Linked DNA regions of Homo sapiens: all the other regions are linked to region 1. Evidence: promoter capture Hi-C in 16 types of primary human blood cells and fetal thymus (Javierre and others, 2016). All regions are on one chromosome and are shown on one strand. Each heading gives the region's core, a stretch centred on a gene start or on the middle of the fragment in contact. The rest is flanking DNA. Distances are from core to core; before and after follow the strand shown.

Region 1 (2,799 bases), core at 218-2,717:
TTCTAATTTCCAGGCACTAATACCATAGGACACAAACATAAACCACCCTCCAGGAGGACACCTGACATCCCTCTCCTTTCTGGGTAGTCTGAAGTGAGAAGGTTGAAAATAGTGCAGATGTCCTTTCTTAGAGCAGCCCCGCCATCCATTCATTCACTCTTTCATTCATTTGTTCAGCCAACATGTGCTCACTGGGCCTGGGGAAGCCCAGGATGAAATGAGACAAACCCTCTGCCCTCTGGCCACGGTGTGCTGGTGCCTGCGCTTTAGGCGGGTACTAAAAGACAAGCAAATATTAAAGATACTCGCTTCCAAAACAAATAAGGCCACGTGGAGCTGTGCACTGGAATGGGATTCTGGATGCAATTTTATTTGATTGGGTACAAGAACCAATCCAGTTAAAGGGGTCATGAACCAACTCCAGGCACCAGGCTCCTACTCAGAGGCTGCCTCAGACCCCCTTCTGGCCCAGGCACCAACCCCTCACCCACCCAACTCCATCTCCCGACATTCTTCAACCACATTCCCATCTCGCTCCACAATATTCTCCCTCCAGGTCCCCCTGACTCTATTTCTCCTCTATTCCCAACCCTGACCTCTCTAGGTCGGCAGCCTTGATGCTACTTCTCCGAACGCCAGGACGCACATCCCAGCCTGCTTTCTACCACCACCCCACACACCTCGAGTCTGCGCTTCCACCCAGAACCCCTTAAACACCATATGTTTACAAACCAGATTCCCCAGGGGTCTATGTACAACACCCCATTCTCAAGACCCCATAAACACATCCTGATTCCCTGAGCACACCATACACACACTGTGGACTTCACCCATGTCCTGAGGGACCCCCTCACCCCATCACCTCCAACTTCTTGGAAGCCCCAGGCCGGCCCCTGACCTCCTGTGGTCCCAGTGGAGCAGCGGACTCGCTGAGACCCCCGGACACCCCAGACTCCGCAGAAGCCCGCCCTGCACGCTTGAACCCCAGGCGCCGGGACAGCCCCTGGCGCCCCCCCGGGCCCCCACACCGCGTGACTCCGGGGCACCCGGGCTCCCCCAGGCCCCGGTCCCGCGCACATCCCCTGGGCCGCAGCTCCCTCGCGGCCCGGCCGCGCCCCTGCCCGCGCCCCGCGCCCGGCCGCGCCTCGGGGGCCCGTTCCCGCGGAGGCCGCGGCGCCCCCCGCAGCCCAGGCCGGCGCGCCCGGAGCGTACCGTTGGCGATGAGCTTGGCCGACAGCTGCTTGACGAGCTCAGGGATCCGCTCCCACTGGCACTCGGAGCGGCAGCGCTCGATCTCCGTCTCCAGCCGCGAGCCTGCCTTCTTGGTCGCCATCGCGGCCTGGCCGGGCCCGGCCGCCCGCCCCGCAGGCCCCACCGCCGCCGCCGCGGCGCCCCCTCGCCGCCTCCCGCCGCCGCCGCGGGCTCGGGCTCCGGCTCCCGGCTCCGCGGCGTAACGGGAGCGCCGGCTGGGGAAGGGGCGGGGAGGCGGGCGGCGGCGGCGGGCGCGGCGGGGCCCCGGGCGCCGCGAGGAGCGGCCCCTGCCGGCCAGGGCCGGAGCCGCAGCACTGACCGGGGCCGGAGCCAGGGCTGGGGCAGGGGCGGGGGCTAGGGCGGGAGACAGGGGCCCGAGGGAGGAAAGGCGGGGTGGGCATGGAGGACAGGGAGAGGGACTGGGGGTGTCTGGGGCGGGGTGAAGACCGAGGGGAAGTGGGGATGGGGGTGGGGGAGCGGGGTAGGAGAGAGATCTGACCAAGGGCGGGTGAGGGGTCTGGTGGGGTAGGGGTCTGGGCAGGATGAAGGGGAGGGAGAGGATCGGGAGGGAGCTAGCGACAGCCTGGGAGCGGGTTGGATCCCCAGGAGTAGGGCCAAGAAAGGGCAGTGACCCTGGGGAAGGTCACCGCCCGGTGGGACCAGTGAGCCAGGTGTGAGGGGTGGGGGGAGGCCTGCCCGAGTTTGTCCTGCCATCTCAGGTGGCCAGCGGTTCCCTGGGGCCCGGTTGGCCTGTGCCCCTTAGCAGATGCCCCTCTGCCCCGCAGCCTTAGCCCCTACCCAGCCAGAGGTGGACGGAGACTCCTCCATCCCAGGCAAGGCACAGCACCTGCCAGGGGTGCCCTAGATGGCTGAGCGGAGCCAGGCAGGGGCTGCCACTCTCACACGCCAGCTCTCGGACCCCCTGAGGGGAAGGCACAGTCACTGGTGGGGCCTCCTGTCTTGGCCACCTAGACTGAGACCTAGGGAGGTGTCCCTCTGTGTTCTCTCAGTGAATCAACTGTCTAGTGATCACCTACTATGTGCTGGGCGCTGCTTTAGGTGCCAGAGATAGAATTGTGAGCTAAAAAAACAAAATTCCTGGCTTGAGAGAGCTTACATTCCAGTTTGGGGGAAAAATAAGCAAAATAAAATAGTAAACTAGACTGTAAAAATGGCTATTTGAAGAAACAGGGAAGGGTTCAGTGAGGAACATAAAGAGTTGGGACAGGCGGGTGGCTCATGCCTGTAATCCCAGCTACTCAGGAGGCTGAGGCAGGATGATTGCTTGAGCCCAGAAGGTGGAGGCTGCAGTGAGCAGTGAACGCACTTCAGCCTGAGCAAGTGTTGCCATTTAAAATGGAGCAGTCAGGGATGGCCTCACGGAGGTGGCATTAGACTTGAAGAAACTAAGGGGGAGCCATGAGGATATCTCTGGGGGAGGAGTATCCCAGGCAGAGAACACCACAAGTGCGAAGGCTCTGGGGTTAGAGCACACTGGGTGGGATGGAGAAATGGCAGAGGCCAGAGGGGCTGGGTGGAGCGAAGGAG
Region 2 (2,700 bases), core at 91-2,590, 350 kb after region 1:
AATACAAACAATTAGCTAGGCGTGGTGGCAGACGCCTGTGATCCCAGCTACTCGGGGGGCTGAGGCAGGAGAATTGCTTGAACCCAGGAGGCGGAGGTTGCAGTGAGCCAAGATTGTGCCATTGCACTCCAGCATGGGCTACAAGAGCGAAACTCCGCCTCAAAAAAAAAAAAAAGAAAGAAAATCAGTAAGTGTCTGCCAAGAAACCGCTGACTATACATTTTTCCCTTCTCCCACCATACCCAGAGCTCCGACCAGCCAGCCTGGTGGTCCTGCCCAGGTCCCTTGCTCCAGCTTTTGAAAGATTCTGCCAGGTCAACACTGGTCCTCTACCCCTGCTGGGCCAGAGTGAGCCAGAAAAGTGGATGCTGCCCCCTCAAGGTGCTATCTCAGAGACCAGGTAAAAAGCTTGGGTTACTGTGGGTTGAAGCTTGGGAGTGTCCAGGTGCTGTAGCCAGGTGTCTCTGTCATCCGGGACCTCTCTGTCCAGCCTCAGGGACCTTCACAGTGCCTGGCACAGAACCTCACTCATGACTGTTGCTCAGGAACGAGCTGCCCTCCCCACTGTTCTGACTCCTTCCCCTATCACCTGGCGCCTGTCCTGGCTGAGATCTTTGAGATCATGGAGAAAGTCCAGCCCTGGAGAAATCCCACTGGCTCTGCCATCTGTCCACTCCATCGCCCAAGCCAGAAACCCGCCTGTACAGGATTAAGAAGAAAATAAAAAACACTTGCATTACCAACACCCAGAGACAGAGATATTGTGTCTGTTCTCCCAGGCTTTTAAACTAGAACCTATCTAGTAAATGGCCCTACTGATGCTGGGTCGGTGTACCTCTCCCACGAGTCTACCTTTCCTATGGCACCAGCACAGACTGGCATCTTCCCTGGCCTAGCCCTAGTCTCATCCTTTCTTCCCCAACCCTGTCATCATCTGCTTTCCCAGCAGAGTGACTTTCTAATGCTAAACCCGATCATGTGGCTCTCCTCTTAAAACTCCTTCAGACTGGGTGCTGTGGTTCATGCCTGTAATCCCAGTACTTCGGGAGGCTGAGGCAGGAGGATGGCTTGAGCCCAGGAGTTTGAGACCAGCCTGGGCAACATAGGGAAGACCTGGTCTCTACAAATTTTTTTTTTAAAAATTAACTGGGCATAGCGGTGCACACCTGTGGTCCCAGCTACTCGGGAGGCTGAGGAGGATTGCTTGAGACCAGGAGGTTGAGGCTGCGGTGAGCCGAGATCATGTCACTGCACTCCAGCCTGGGCAACAGGGCAAGACCCTGTCTAAAATATATATATATAAAATAAAATAAAATTCTTCAGCATCTTCTTATGGCTTGGACCTCAGCCTGATCTCAAGCCCATGGTGACCTGGCCCCAGCTCAGTTTCTCCCCTGACCCCTGACACTCCAGTCATCCCCAGCCAGTTCCCGAGACAGAAAACCCCCCAGGAACATTCTGTCATGATCATTTTAGGACGGGAAGGTCCTTTGGAGACCCCATCTGGGCCCATGATTGTACCTTTACATTTTTCCCCGGTGCCTCCTGTGCTGCCAACTTGGAAACTCCTGGAGCCCATCCCCCAGTGGGCTTTCCACGTGCTGCTTCCTCTGCCTGGGTATGCCTTCTTCCTTGCCCAACTGGCAAACTCCTATTCATGCCTCAAGACCCAGCACCAAACTCCTCTGTGGAAGAGAATTGATTTCTTCCTTCTCTGTGTCACTCTACCTAGACGGTTGACATTCCTTGCTGTGTATTGCCAGTATGTGTTTTCAGTGAAGTCTCACCTATCAATTAGGGTTACGAGCTCTTTAAATGCTGGGATGGGATGGGCGCGGTGGCTCACGCCTGTAATCCCAGCACTTTGGGAGGCCAAGGAGAGCAGATCACCTGAGATCAGGAATTCGAGACCAGCCTGGCCAACGCGGTGAAACGCTGTCTCTACTAAAAATACAGAAATTAGCCGGGCATGGTGGTTCGGGCCTATGATCTCAGCTATTTGGGAGGCTGAGGTGGGAGAATCACTTGAACCTGGGAGGCAGAGGTTGCAGTGAGCCGAGGTTGCACCACTGCACTCCAGGCTGGGCAACAGAGCAAGACTCTGTCTCAAAAAAAAAATAAATAAATAAAAAACATTAAAAAAAGAAAAAAAGACTGGGACAGTGTCCTCTCCATTACTCTAGCCCCATCGCCCAGCATGTGCCCGGCATGAAGGCATGGCTCAGTAAAAGAGTTTGGAGTGGGTAAAGAATAAGCTTGTAACCAAAGAAGTCTTTCAACCCTACAGAAGAGTTTCCTTTAAGGGAAGAGAAAGGCCTCACCCACTACTGGCACTGAGAGGTTCCCCAAGACACATATTCTCTGTCCCCTTTGGGCTACTGGTCCTACCTCTATAGCAGAGAGGCCACCATTTACTTTTCTTCTTCTTCTTTTTTTTTTTTTTTCTTTGAGGCAGTCTCACTCTGTTGCCCAGGCTGGAGTAGTGCAGTGGCACGATCTCGGCTCACTACAACCTCCACCTCCCAGGTTCAAGCGATTCTCCTGCTTCAGCCTCCTGAGTAGCTGAGATTACAGCTGTGTACCACCATGCCTGGCTAGTTTTTGTATTTTTAGTATAGACGGGGTTTCACCTTGTTGCCCAGGCTTGTCTTGAACTCCGGAGTTCAAGTGATCTGCCCGCCTCGGCCTCCCAAAGTGCTG
Region 3 (2,700 bases), core at 161-2,660, 490 kb after region 1:
AAATTCTTCTCTACAGACCCCTTCCTGAGTGTCTCACACCCAAAGACAATCTGACAGAGGCTAGCCAGTGTCCCTGGGGTTTCTGGCCTTTCTCTTCAGGACTCCACTGCACCTTGTTGGAAAAGCACATTAATCAAGCATGTCTCTAACCATTAGCAATGACCCAACTGTAGGGCAGAAACTTTATAACTCTTACTCACCACTGAATCCCCGTGTGAGGAATGACACGTAGTGAATGCTTGTTAGAGCAATGAGTGGGTGAGCGTCTCCGATTTTAGTGTCAAATGAGAAGAAGAGAAAACCATCATCCTTGTGTGCCATGTACCTACACTCCTAAACCTGTAGCCCTGCTGCAGACACAGCAAGGGAGCCTCCAGTCATCTGTCCAACCAGCAAAAAGCACTGAGTAACTACCACATGCTGTACTGAGCAAGGACCTGCAGGGAAAACAACAGTCCAGACTCCACCTGCCAAAACCTTTGCTCTCTGAATGCACATTAAGAATACAATAAGGGGTCAGCACGGTGGCTCACGCCTATAATCCCAGCATTTTGGGAGGCCGAGACAGGTGGATCACTTGAGGTAGGGAGTTCAAAACCAGCCTGGTCAACATGGTGAAACCCCATCTCTACTAAAAAATACAAAAATTAGCCGGGTGTGGTGGTGCATGCCTGTAGTCCCAGCTACTTGGGAGGCTGAAGTAGGAGGATTGCTTGAAGCCGGGAGGTGGAGGCTGCTGTGAGCCAAGATCGCTCCACTGCACTCCAGCCTGGGCGACAGAGTGAGACTCCATCTCAAAATAAAGAAAGAAGGAAAGAATACAATACAGCATTATTTAATACGACATAACATAACACTAAGAATAAGGCACGCAAGTGCCTGGTGAGTGCTGGGCATCATGCTAGTATCAGACTTACACGAATGCTTCATTAGTTTGTCAGCTGGGTGCAACTCCTACCATGTCTAGACACAGCACCACGTACACAATAAATGTCACACAAATAACAAGATGGGTGGGGGAAGACGAGGGAGAGATCAAAGTGAAAAGAGGCAGAAGATGCTACTTTAGGCCGGAAGGAGTAGTCTTATAGTTTCAGATGCCTCAACAGCCCCTGAAGGATGGAGATCTGGATGGATAAAAGGGGTGAAGAACTCCAGATAGAGACAAAAAGGAAGCACTTGGCAAGTGAATAAATGAATGTCATCACCACCCATGAACCCACAAGCATCATCAGCGCCCGCACAAGGCTTTTGTGATTCAATGACATTTGTGGCTCCTGACCGTGGAGATGTCCTCCCCACTCCCACCTTGAAGAACCAACGATCACTTAGCCATGTTGTTGAGGCGGCTCCAAAGGATATACCATCAGCAGGGCCATTTCCCAGGCAAAGGAAGTAGATCTTGCTCCCTCTGTTGTACTCCAAGTACCTGAGAGCCTCTCTTTAGCCATGTCTCTCTCATGCATCAGATTCAGGTGCACATCACACCTGCCCCTCAGACTCTGGAGAGCAGCATCCTACCTCTCCTAGCCCTCCCTGGATCCTGCCATGCCCTGCGCAGGTGCCTGGTACCATCACTGATCAGCAGGAGACAGAATCCCAGCCCAGATTGGCTGACTTAATGAATACAAAACCCAAGACCATGAACTGTCAAGAGTGCAAAGTTAAGATGTGTGCATTTCAATGTAAGTTTTACCTGTAAAAAATGGGGTGAGGGTGTGGAGAGTGGGAGGTGCACATGAAATGAGAACAGCAGGACATAAATGACTGTCGAGAGTGCATGATGCATACACAAGAGTTTCACTATATGATTCTGCTTCCTTTCTATATGTTCGGAAGTTTCCATAATTAAAGGTTAAAAATGAAAAAAAGCAAGCGAGACCTTGATATGAAAGAGAAGAGCTGGGAGGCCAGAGAAGGCATACCCCTACAAACGGAGCCGTGGAGAATTCCCTCCTTATTTCTGTTTTGGGGAGAAAAGAGACAGAAGAGAACCCTTAGGGATCAGGGCCCCAAAGGCCCACTGGAAATAGTAGAGGCATCCCCTTCTCCACACAGGAGCCCCTCTTACTACTGTCTTCAGTTGCACAAATTCCAAATTGCTAAAGGTAACGTTTATTTCCTTCCTTTTGGGAAAGCTCAGGTGCCCCAACAATGGGAAGCAGCTGGCCAAGAGATTTCCTGCAGGGGAGGTCCAGGGAAGTCCCAGTCCTCCGCGCAGCCTGACAGACTCCCCAGGCCTGGCCTCAGGCCCCGCTGCAGGCCTACCCAGGGGCCCCACCTCCACCCTCCTTCACCTCCCCTCCCCACACACCCTGCCTCTCCCCCGGGCCCTGCCCACTTCCCCAAAGCCCTGCCTCTCCTGAGACCCTCTCCTGAGACCCCACCTCTGCTCCAGGCTCCACCTCTCCTCCAGGCTCCACCCTTCTCACGAGGCCCCCGCCTCTCGTCCAGGCTCCACCCATCTCCCCCAGTCCCTGCCTTTCCCACAGGTCCTACCCACCTCCCCCAGACCCCGCCTCTCTCCAGGCTCCACCTCTCTCCCCAGGCTCTGCCTCTCCTCCAGGCTCCACCCCTCTCCCCAGGCCCCACCCCTCCTCCAGGCTCTATCACTCTCCCCCAGGTCCCACCCATCTCCTCCAGGCTCCACCCATCTTCCCCAGGCCCTGCCTCTCCCCTAGGTCCCACCCATCTACCCCA
Region 4 (2,763 bases), core at 196-2,695, 430 kb before region 1:
TAGACACTGGAGACTCCACAAAGTGGGAGGGCAGTGAGGGATGAGAAATTACCTGTTGGGTACATCGTATACTACTCAGGTGACAGTCACACTAAAAGCCCAGACTCCACCACTGTGCAATATATACATGTAACAAAAATGTACCCTTTAAATCTATAAAAAATAAATCCTTTCTAGCCCAGTTTGCTAAGGGTTTTTTTTTTCATGAAGAACATTTATAATAAACTCTTTGTTCTGCATAAAAAAGGAATAATGTTTATGTCTTTATTTCCCATTATGTGACTTTTAGGCTGCTTTCTAAAATTTTGATTTCTTTTCTTCAGGTGGTTAAAACAGTATGATTGGACTTGTTTAGAGCATGGTGCTCTTTCACAGAAAGAGAAACTTGTTCCAAGGCTTCAGCAGTATCCTAACCCCCTAACCCAGCTGGCCGTCTAGCAAATATTCACAGCATACAAGTTTCGAAAGTCAGAATGGCTCGGTGGGAGCCTATGGTGTCACCATACGGAACACAGTTTGAAATGTGTGCTCAAACCACGAAGTATTCCCATATGCAAAGGTTCCCACAGGTCTCAATTGAATCTGTATAAAAAATTAAAAAATAAAAATAAAGTTCCCACAGGTACAAAGCGCAGAATACCTTTTCTCAGTTCTTTCCCCTTCTTTAGGACTTGAAAATCAGAAATGCCTCTAGTAGAATCTCCGTGTCAGCAGACCATTTAAAATATGGCTCATATGTTTTGCTGCTATTCAGTTTTAAGGTCATTTCCTAAGTTTCAAACTTTGTGGGAAACAGGTGCAACTGTGAACCTTCGTGTGGCAGGGAAGAGCTGGAGCAGTGAAACATGAAACTACAAATCAGTTCTCTGAGTCACAAATCTCTTGGGCTGCTGTGGAAGACAGTGATGACTCAGCAGAATTGCATGGGACTGGTGGAGGGTGAGGCGGCTGAGGGCTCAGTGCCCTGAGTACCAACCTGTTGGGGGTGCTGCCAAATGATGGGAGACCGAGTTGGATCTTCCCACTGCTGAGCCCTTCCGCAGACTAAGTCAGACCCCCTGACCTGGGTTCTGAATGGATTTCTGACCCACCCATTGCCATTTAGCACAATGATATTTTAAATATTATACGCAACCACATCGTATATTTCCCTAGGGTTTGTTTATTACACTAATGTTACAGATGAGATAGCTGAGTCTGCCTGGCTAAGTGGCCAACGAATCAGCCATTTAACCTAGCAAATGAGATGCAGCAATATGGTCCTCTTCTTGGGAAAAAGCTATTTGCTTTGTCAAAACAATGAAAATAACAAAGCCTTGAGTAACCCTTCATCAAAATAAGACAAATTTTCTGTCTATGCTTTTTGGTTTATGAGAATGAGAATGAGAAGGAAGGTGACACACTGATACTCAGTTGTACAACTTGAAAACACTCCTGAAGGTACATCTTTTCAGTGGCCAAATGATTCAATCATCCCGTTGTGATGCCTGGAGTTGGTTTATTAGCCAATGACTCAGAGCCTCAACTTAGAATGAATAAAACTCAATAAGCATCTTCACTAGATTCAGATGGAGGTGGTTTTTCTGTTCAAAGACAACTTCCCTTTGACCATATTTTCTCCATTATAGGAAGCAGAGGATGGATCCAGTTATGTGAAAGTCTGAAGAAAATTGCCAAAGGATGGGTCAGCCAAGGTATACGCTTGCTCGTGACTGTAGAAGGATACAGGTTGGGATCAAAGCAGGGATAGTTCAGGATGTTCCTCAGGAGGTGTGGCCTCCCACCTTGCTTTCAGAATTAAAGCAAAGGACTTTCTTTTCCTTTTGTATTTTGAGAAATTCACTTTTAATATCCTCTTCAGTCCTGAGAGTGAATTGAGCTCAACACTAATCAATTAAATAGTTGACTGGTGTTTAATGAGTCAAATGCTATGCTGAGTTCAAAAAGTATATCTTGGCTTCTACTACTATCTGGTTGATGTTAGATATATGAAACGATAATATCAGGTAGAAAAGGACAAGAGGGGTAGGAATTCAGCGGAGAGGAAGTTCATTTGGAGTTGTGATAATCAGGAAAGTTTGAAACATGTTGCATTTAAACTGGGCATGAAGGACCCGTAGGATTTAGATAGGTGGTGAGGATATGGATAGGCATTTGGACACTAGGAATGGCATGGAAAAGGCAATGAGTTGAGAGGAGACAATGTATATTCAGGGGACAGAGACGATACTGATTTGTCTGAAGCAAAGAATGTATAGAATAACAAAGGATGGTAATGCTGAAAAAGTAGATTGGCAAACTGTTGAAAGGCATTGGGAGGCATTGAGGGTTTTTGAGCATGGGAGTGACATGATGAAACTGCTGGCAGCTGTGCATTGGATGGATCAGAAGGGGACAAGCTCATTGGGATAGACAAAGATCATGGATGTGCTATTAGAAATTTTGGGATCCTCAACATTCCTGATCCAGGCAAACACAGATACTTCCTTTTTTAAAATTTCTAGAATGGAGCTATCTGATGTAACTTATTGGAATGATGGAAATGTTCCATGCTGCCCAATATGGTAACCACTAGCCATATGGGCCTATTGAGCACTTGAAATGTGGCTATAAAGACTGAGGAACTCAATTTTAAATTTTAATTAAGTTTGATTTAAATAGCCACATGTGATTAGTGACTACTGGATTGGGCAGCACAGCTCTAGAAGGCAGGACAGAGGCTATTTATTGATTGAAAACCAAACCACACAGTTGCCAAATTAG
Region 5 (2,700 bases), core at 98-2,597, 330 kb after region 1:
CTGTGTTTTTCAGAGCAAGTAGGTACCATGGTGATAGGTACCATAGAAATAGATGGAGCGCACCACCCAGCACGGGGCTGCCAAGCTGTTCCCCTGGAAATGCACCGAGAGCTGCCAGGGAGAGCCCAGGGACTCTGCTTCCTGGGGCCTGTCAGCTGCACGGCCAGGGAAGAAGTCCCCTGTAGAATGGTCCCCAGAGGCTTCTCACTGTCTTGCTGTCATTGTCCAAGGTCCCTGATGGTGCATCCTCCTCCTGGAGCACCTGTGGCCTTCCTCTCTGAGTCCTCAGGAAACTCACTTAAGGGGGTTTGCCTTTGCCTAGTGAAGCAATTATCTTGGCCAACAGTGACCTCAAAAGTAGCACTGCCAGCATTCCTGTCTCCATAGTTAGGAGTGCGTGGTCCTCATCCTGCCTGGATGTGGCACTGTCACTGGTTTTATGCAATGTCATAAAGAATTTGTGGGGCAGGAGCTGAGTTCTGAACATTTGGTAATCAGGAATACTCATAAAATGAAATTTCAGAGGATCTAACCCAGAAAGCCGAGCAAGGTAGGGCATAACCACGTCTGATATGGTGGTTTTCAGTTTGTGAAGCCACAGGCAGTACAGAATAGGGCCCAGCCTCAACTATTTTTGGATGCAGCTTGAATGGACTGAAAGACCCTTTGAAACAAGTGCTGGAACCATCCCGTAGCACTTACATAACCATCTCTGCAAGGCTGTTGATAGATGAATGTAAATGAACCTAGGCAGAGCTTAGCTCATTTTTATTTAGATTTAGACCAATTTCATGTCTTCTGAAACGTAACCCATATATACACACACTAAATCTAACTCTTTTATTTTAGGCCTAGCATGAGAGGATCAAGTTGAAAGGGCATCTGTTATTATATCTGTCCCATCATATCTGCTTCTGTGATGGCTTTATTATGTACATTTCTTTCTATACATTTGTGCTCTCAGGTGGCATTCTTCTTCAGAGCAGGGCAAGTGTAATTCTGGACCAATGTGTGATTCTGAGACCAGACCAACCAACTGAAGGTAATTTTATTCTCAATTAAAGAAACACAGACGGGGCGCAGTGGCGCACGTGAGCCTGTAGTCCCAGCACTTTGGGAGGCTGAGGCAGGTGGATCACTTAAGGTCAGGAGTTCAAGACCAGCCTGGCCAACATAGTGAAACCCCATTTCTACTAAAAATACAAAAATTAGCCAGGTGCAGTGGCACGCACCTGTAATCCCAGCTACTTGGGAGGGTGAGGCAGGAGAATCGCTTGAACTAAGTAGGTGGAGGTTACAGTGAGCCAAGATTGCACCGCTGCACTCCAGCCTGGATGGCAGAGTAAATCTCTGTCTCAAAAAAGAAAGATACACACATCTCTAACAAAGGATTTTTTTTTTTTCTTGAGACAGGATCTCTCTCCATCACCCAGGCTGGAGTGCAGTGGCTCCATCTCGGCTCACTGCAACCTCCACCCCCAAGGCTCAAGCGATATTCCTACCTCAGCCTCCCAAGTAGCTGGGACCACAGGTGTGTACCACCATGCCTGGCTATTTTTTTGTATTTTTAGTAAAGACAGGGTCTCACCATTTTGCTCAGGCTGGTCTCGAACTCCTGAGCTCAAGCGATCCACCCACCTTGGCCTCTCAAAGTGCTGGGATTATAGGCATGAGCCACTGTGCCTGGCTAGGAATTTATTTTAACAACCAAAAACTTAAAACTCAATAACATCATTAACTCATAAATTATTGTTTAGTTACAGATTACGAAAATGATAGAACCAGAAGGTGCTAACAAAATGTCTGTCCTGCATGTGTGGCATTTGACATGAAGAAACTGAGGCCCTTGCTGGGCGCAGTGGCTCATGCCTGTAACCCCAGCACTTTGGGAGGCCAAGGCAGGAGGATCACTTGAGCTCAAGAGTTCAAGACCAGCCTTGGACAAGATAGTGAAACCTTGTCTCTACCAAAAAAATACAGAAGTTAGCCAGGCATGGTGCAGTGTACCTGTAGTAGCAGCTACTGAGGAAGCTGAGGTAGGAGGATCGCTTGATCCCAGGAGGTCAAGGCTGCAGTAAGCCGTGATTGTGCCACTGCACCCCAGCCTGGGCGACAGAGTGAGACCCTGTCTCAAAAAAAGAAAAGTAAAGGCTACGCGCGGTGGCTCATACCTGTAATTTCAGCACTTTGGGAGGCCGAGGCGGGTGGATCACCTGAGGTGGGGAGTTTGAGATCAGCCTGACCAACATGGAGAAACCCCGTCTCTACTAAAAATACAAAATTAGCCAGGCGTGGTGGCGCATGCCTGTAATCCCAGCTACTCGGGAGGCTGAGGCAGGAGAATCACTTGAACCCGTGCGGCGGAGGTTGCTGTGAGCCGAGATGGTGCCATTGCACCCCAGCCTGGGCAACAAGAGCGAAACTCTATCTCAAAAAAAAAAAAAAGAAAAGAAAAGAAAAGAAAGAAACTGAGGCCCAAAGAGTTTGCATACTTTGCTATTAGTTCAGCCTGTCTTCTGTGTATGCAGGTGGTGTCTCTAGGTCGTTATCACTCTGGCAAATTCTCTCCCAGTGATGGAGATGTGTGGAGCCCCCAGTCTCTCCAACCAGGGAGTGGTGCTCATGGTGACCCTGAAGTAGGCTTGTGGGTCAGGCCGTTGGTTGAGCTGTGCAGTGCCAGAAGTAGCTAAACATCCTTAA
Region 6 (2,875 bases), core at 86-2,585, 410 kb before region 1:
CTTCACCATGGCTATTTGAAAAGGAGATGTACTTGGACGTTTCTGTAAATCTTGAGATAAACTGTTTGGAGATTTAACCACCTCTCTGATGGGGGACCAACTCTATGGAAATTGTAAATACGTTTTATTTATAAACCTGGCACTGTATTCAATAAACATTTCTGCAGCCTTTCATCTCTAACTGCGAACTGTGTAGGTTTCTAGCTTGCATAGCTTTCAATTCCTTTTGCTCTCAACAAGATAGACCTGCCCTCAGATGTAATTTCACTGGGTCTCTAGTACTGTGAGAGTGAGGGGCCAGAAATAACCGTAGACACATCCCACAACCGTCTTACCCTAGTTTTAAGTAGTTTGAGTGTTAATAGCTGACATTTTAACCTATTCTCTTAGCCTATTAACTTGTCCATGCTTGCTTTTTATGCGGAAAATTTACACCATAAGGATTAGTTTCCTTTTAACCCCAATCCAAGCCTCTTTAGGACTTGTATAAAGAAATACATTTTTTTCAATAAGATGGGAATTTTAGATGACAACCAAGATGATACCTTGGTTCATGTCAAGAGCGGGACAGCTGAGGAAAGTGGGGTGGGATGCAAGTACAATTTAGGACCTTGGCATTGAAGCCTTCCCCTTAGTCAACACTGGCCCAGACCCTGGTTCTTAGATGTAGCAGGAGAGGCTGCCTGCTTCTGCCCCCTTTGCTTCCAGAAAGGCCTTTTCCAGCTGCCTCGTGTGTTTCCCACTCTGCCCAGAAGGAGTGAGAGGGCTGAAAAGCGGGGCGGGATAAGGCCCTGCTTTCGACAGAAGGCTTGAGACACATCTCCAGAAAGCATTTAAAGAGCCCCTCCTGCACATAGGAGCTGGGACTATAAGGACATGGTCATCACCGTGGAGACGGCCCTCTGCTCTGAGGCTTTAGACCTGGCTTCTGGATTTGGTTCTGTCCCTCCAGCCTCAGGCAGGTTCTTTACCTTTCCCAGGCCTTGGTATCCTCCTTGGTAAGATCATATTGGACTTGGTACCTTCTGCCTGTGGCTTTCTAGGATTATGACCGACCTGGTTTGGCATCACTTTGTGTTTAGATAGATGAAATTGCAGCCTAAAGGATGGGAGGCAAAATTGTGTAGGAGTGCTGTGTCCTTTGAGATGACAAATGGGATTTAAAAATTCTCACCAGCTTCATGTTGGAGGTGGAGTGGAGGTTAAGCTTGCTATTAAGACGTGATGTAATATTGGAACCTGGGTCAGAGAAACTGATTGTTAAGTGACTTCCATTCTCCCAGGACGGAAATAGGAGGCTACCACTGGGCCTGTAAGGGATTCAGTCCAAGTGACATCATCTGGTTTTCAGCAGCTCCGGTTTAGAAAAACACACACACATTTCCGATTCAAGCTGAACTTTCCCGGGCACTGGGGGGCTGGAGCACCCAATGACTCAGGATGCCTTAGAAGGAAATAAAACATAAAGCTTTTTATAGCTTGGTGCTTCTCTCCCACTGCCCTCAACTCTCTGCCAAGGAGTGGGAGGAGTTAGCTCATGGACCAGAACTCCCATTAAAGCCCCTGAACTCTGATTAAATCAAGTGGCAGTTTTCCTCATGAGAATTATGTTCTTTGTGTCAGGAACCTTAGGAATGAGTGTGAATTGACACATTCAGATTGTGGGGTTTTTTTTTTCTCTTTTGAGGTGGGGTCTCATTCTCACTCAGGCTGGAGTGCAGTGGCACAATCACAGCTCACTGCAGCCTCCACCTCCCAGGTTCAAATGATCCTCCCACCTCAGCCCCCCCAGTAGCTGGGACTACAGGGATGTGCTGCTGTGCTCAGCTAATTTTTAAATTTTTTTATGCAGACGCGGTTTCACATGTTGCTTAGGCTGGTCTCAAACTCCTGGGCTCAACAAATCCTCCCACCTTGGCCTCCCAAAGTGTTGGGATTACAAGTGTGAGCCACTGTGCCTTGGCTCAGATAATTTTTTTTTTTTTTTTTTTTTTTTTTTGAGACAGAGTCTTGCTCTGTCACTCAGGCTGGAGTGCAGTGGTGTGATCTTGGCTCACTGCAACCTTCGCCTCCTGGGTTCAAGCAATTCTCCTGCCTCAGCCTCCTGAGTAGCTGGGACTACAGGCGCACACCACCACGTCTGGCTAATTTTTGTATTTTTAATAGAGACGGAGTTTCACTATGTTGGCGAGGCTGGTTTTGAACTCCTGACCTCAGGTCATCTGTCCGCCTTGGCCTCCCAAAGTGCTGGGATTATAGGCATGAGTCACTGTACCCAGCCCCAGATAGTCTTTTCAATATCATATCTTAGTTTTATTTTCAGTTTTACAAAGGCTAAAAGGAAAATCCAGAGTTTCCTCTAGCAATATAATTATTTGAACATTTTGTTACAACAAGATCTTTAGATCCTGGCTGTATGTAAGCATGTTTGCTTTTAAACTGATTTTTCATTTTGAGTCTTTGTATACCCTTCAAGTTGTGATTTTTTTTAAGTTACTGCATTTTTTAGCAAAAGATAGATTTTTTCCTGCATAGACATATCAGAATCAAGATTTGAGATAGATTGTTTTAAAAATGGAAAATAAGTAAAAAAGTAATTATAAAATCATATCTTAGTTAAAAGGAACAGGTCATATAGGTAAAACTTCCTCTGAGTGCAGGTATCCATATCTGGTGATTCTCAAACTTGGAATACTTCTAACACTGGACATCTAATCCTGTTTCCACAAGGCAGAACTTGGGCTTTCTCCCTTTCAATGACAAGAAGTTAATTAACAGCCCATTCCCATTTTTATTTTTATTTTTTTGAGATGGAGTCTTGCTCTGTCGCTCAGGCTGGAGTGCAGTGGCCTGATCTCCACTCACTGCAAGCTCC

What was found. Contacts are between HindIII fragments. The CHiCAGO score rates a contact against its expected background, and 5 or more counts as called.
Region 2: a fragment that was not itself captured here is called in contact with the fragment with the promoter of TTC7B in region 1 in 1 of 17 cell types (megakaryocytes); the score reaches 5.8 in megakaryocytes.
Region 3: a contact is called between a fragment that was not itself captured here and the fragment with the promoter of TTC7B in region 1, in 1 of 17 cell types (megakaryocytes). The highest score is 6.3, in megakaryocytes.
Region 4: a contact is called between a fragment that was not itself captured here and the fragment with the promoter of TTC7B in region 1, in 3 of 17 cell types (endothelial precursors, erythroblasts and M1 macrophages). The highest score is 7.0, in endothelial precursors.
Region 5: a contact is called between a fragment that was not itself captured here and the fragment with the promoter of TTC7B in region 1, in 1 of 17 cell types (megakaryocytes). The highest score is 5.8, in megakaryocytes.
Region 6: a contact is called between a fragment that was not itself captured here and the fragment with the promoter of TTC7B in region 1, in 1 of 17 cell types (endothelial precursors). The highest score is 5.4, in endothelial precursors.

The regions. Positions count from the first base shown.
Region 1 is chr14:90,814,963-90,817,761 of GRCh38, forward strand. It overlaps TTC7B (tetratricopeptide repeat domain 7B), which reads right to left and starts at 1,468. Exons shown (of 20, transcript NM_001010854.2): 1 at 1,213-1,468. The coding sequence starts at 1,333. RefSeq lists a silencer at 1,462-1,641. The HindIII fragment of the contact is 10,969 bases long and covers 1-2,799 here.
Region 2 is chr14:91,166,979-91,169,678 of GRCh38, forward strand. It overlaps DGLUCY (D-glutamate cyclase), which reads left to right. Exons shown (of 14, transcript NM_001102368.3): 4 at 247-400. Among named protein-coding and RNA genes, the nearest start is that of SNORA11B, 42 kb to the left of the region's middle. The HindIII fragment of the contact is 1,825 bases long and covers 429-2,253 here.
Region 3 is chr14:91,300,921-91,303,620 of GRCh38, forward strand. The region is part of intron 20 of CCDC88C (coiled-coil domain containing 88C); the gene reads right to left. Among named protein-coding and RNA genes, the nearest start is that of GPR68, 58 kb to the left of the region's middle. RefSeq lists silencers at 2,283-2,342, 2,503-2,662. The HindIII fragment of the contact is 6,207 bases long and covers 1-2,700 here.
Region 4 is chr14:90,387,728-90,390,490 of GRCh38, forward strand. No RefSeq gene overlaps it. Among named protein-coding and RNA genes, the nearest start is that of CALM1, 7.9 kb to the right of the region's middle. The HindIII fragment of the contact is 3,178 bases long and covers 1-2,763 here.
Region 5 is chr14:91,146,817-91,149,516 of GRCh38, forward strand. All of the region lies in intron 1 of DGLUCY (D-glutamate cyclase), which reads left to right. Among named protein-coding and RNA genes, the nearest start is that of SNORA11B, 22 kb to the left of the region's middle. The HindIII fragment of the contact is 3,526 bases long and covers 1-2,700 here.
Region 6 is chr14:90,408,088-90,410,962 of GRCh38, forward strand. CALM1 (calmodulin 1) reads left to right here. Exons shown (of 6, transcript NM_006888.6): 6 at 1-181. Among named protein-coding and RNA genes, the nearest start is that of CALM1, 12 kb to the left of the region's middle. The HindIII fragment of the contact is 261 bases long and covers 1,206-1,466 here.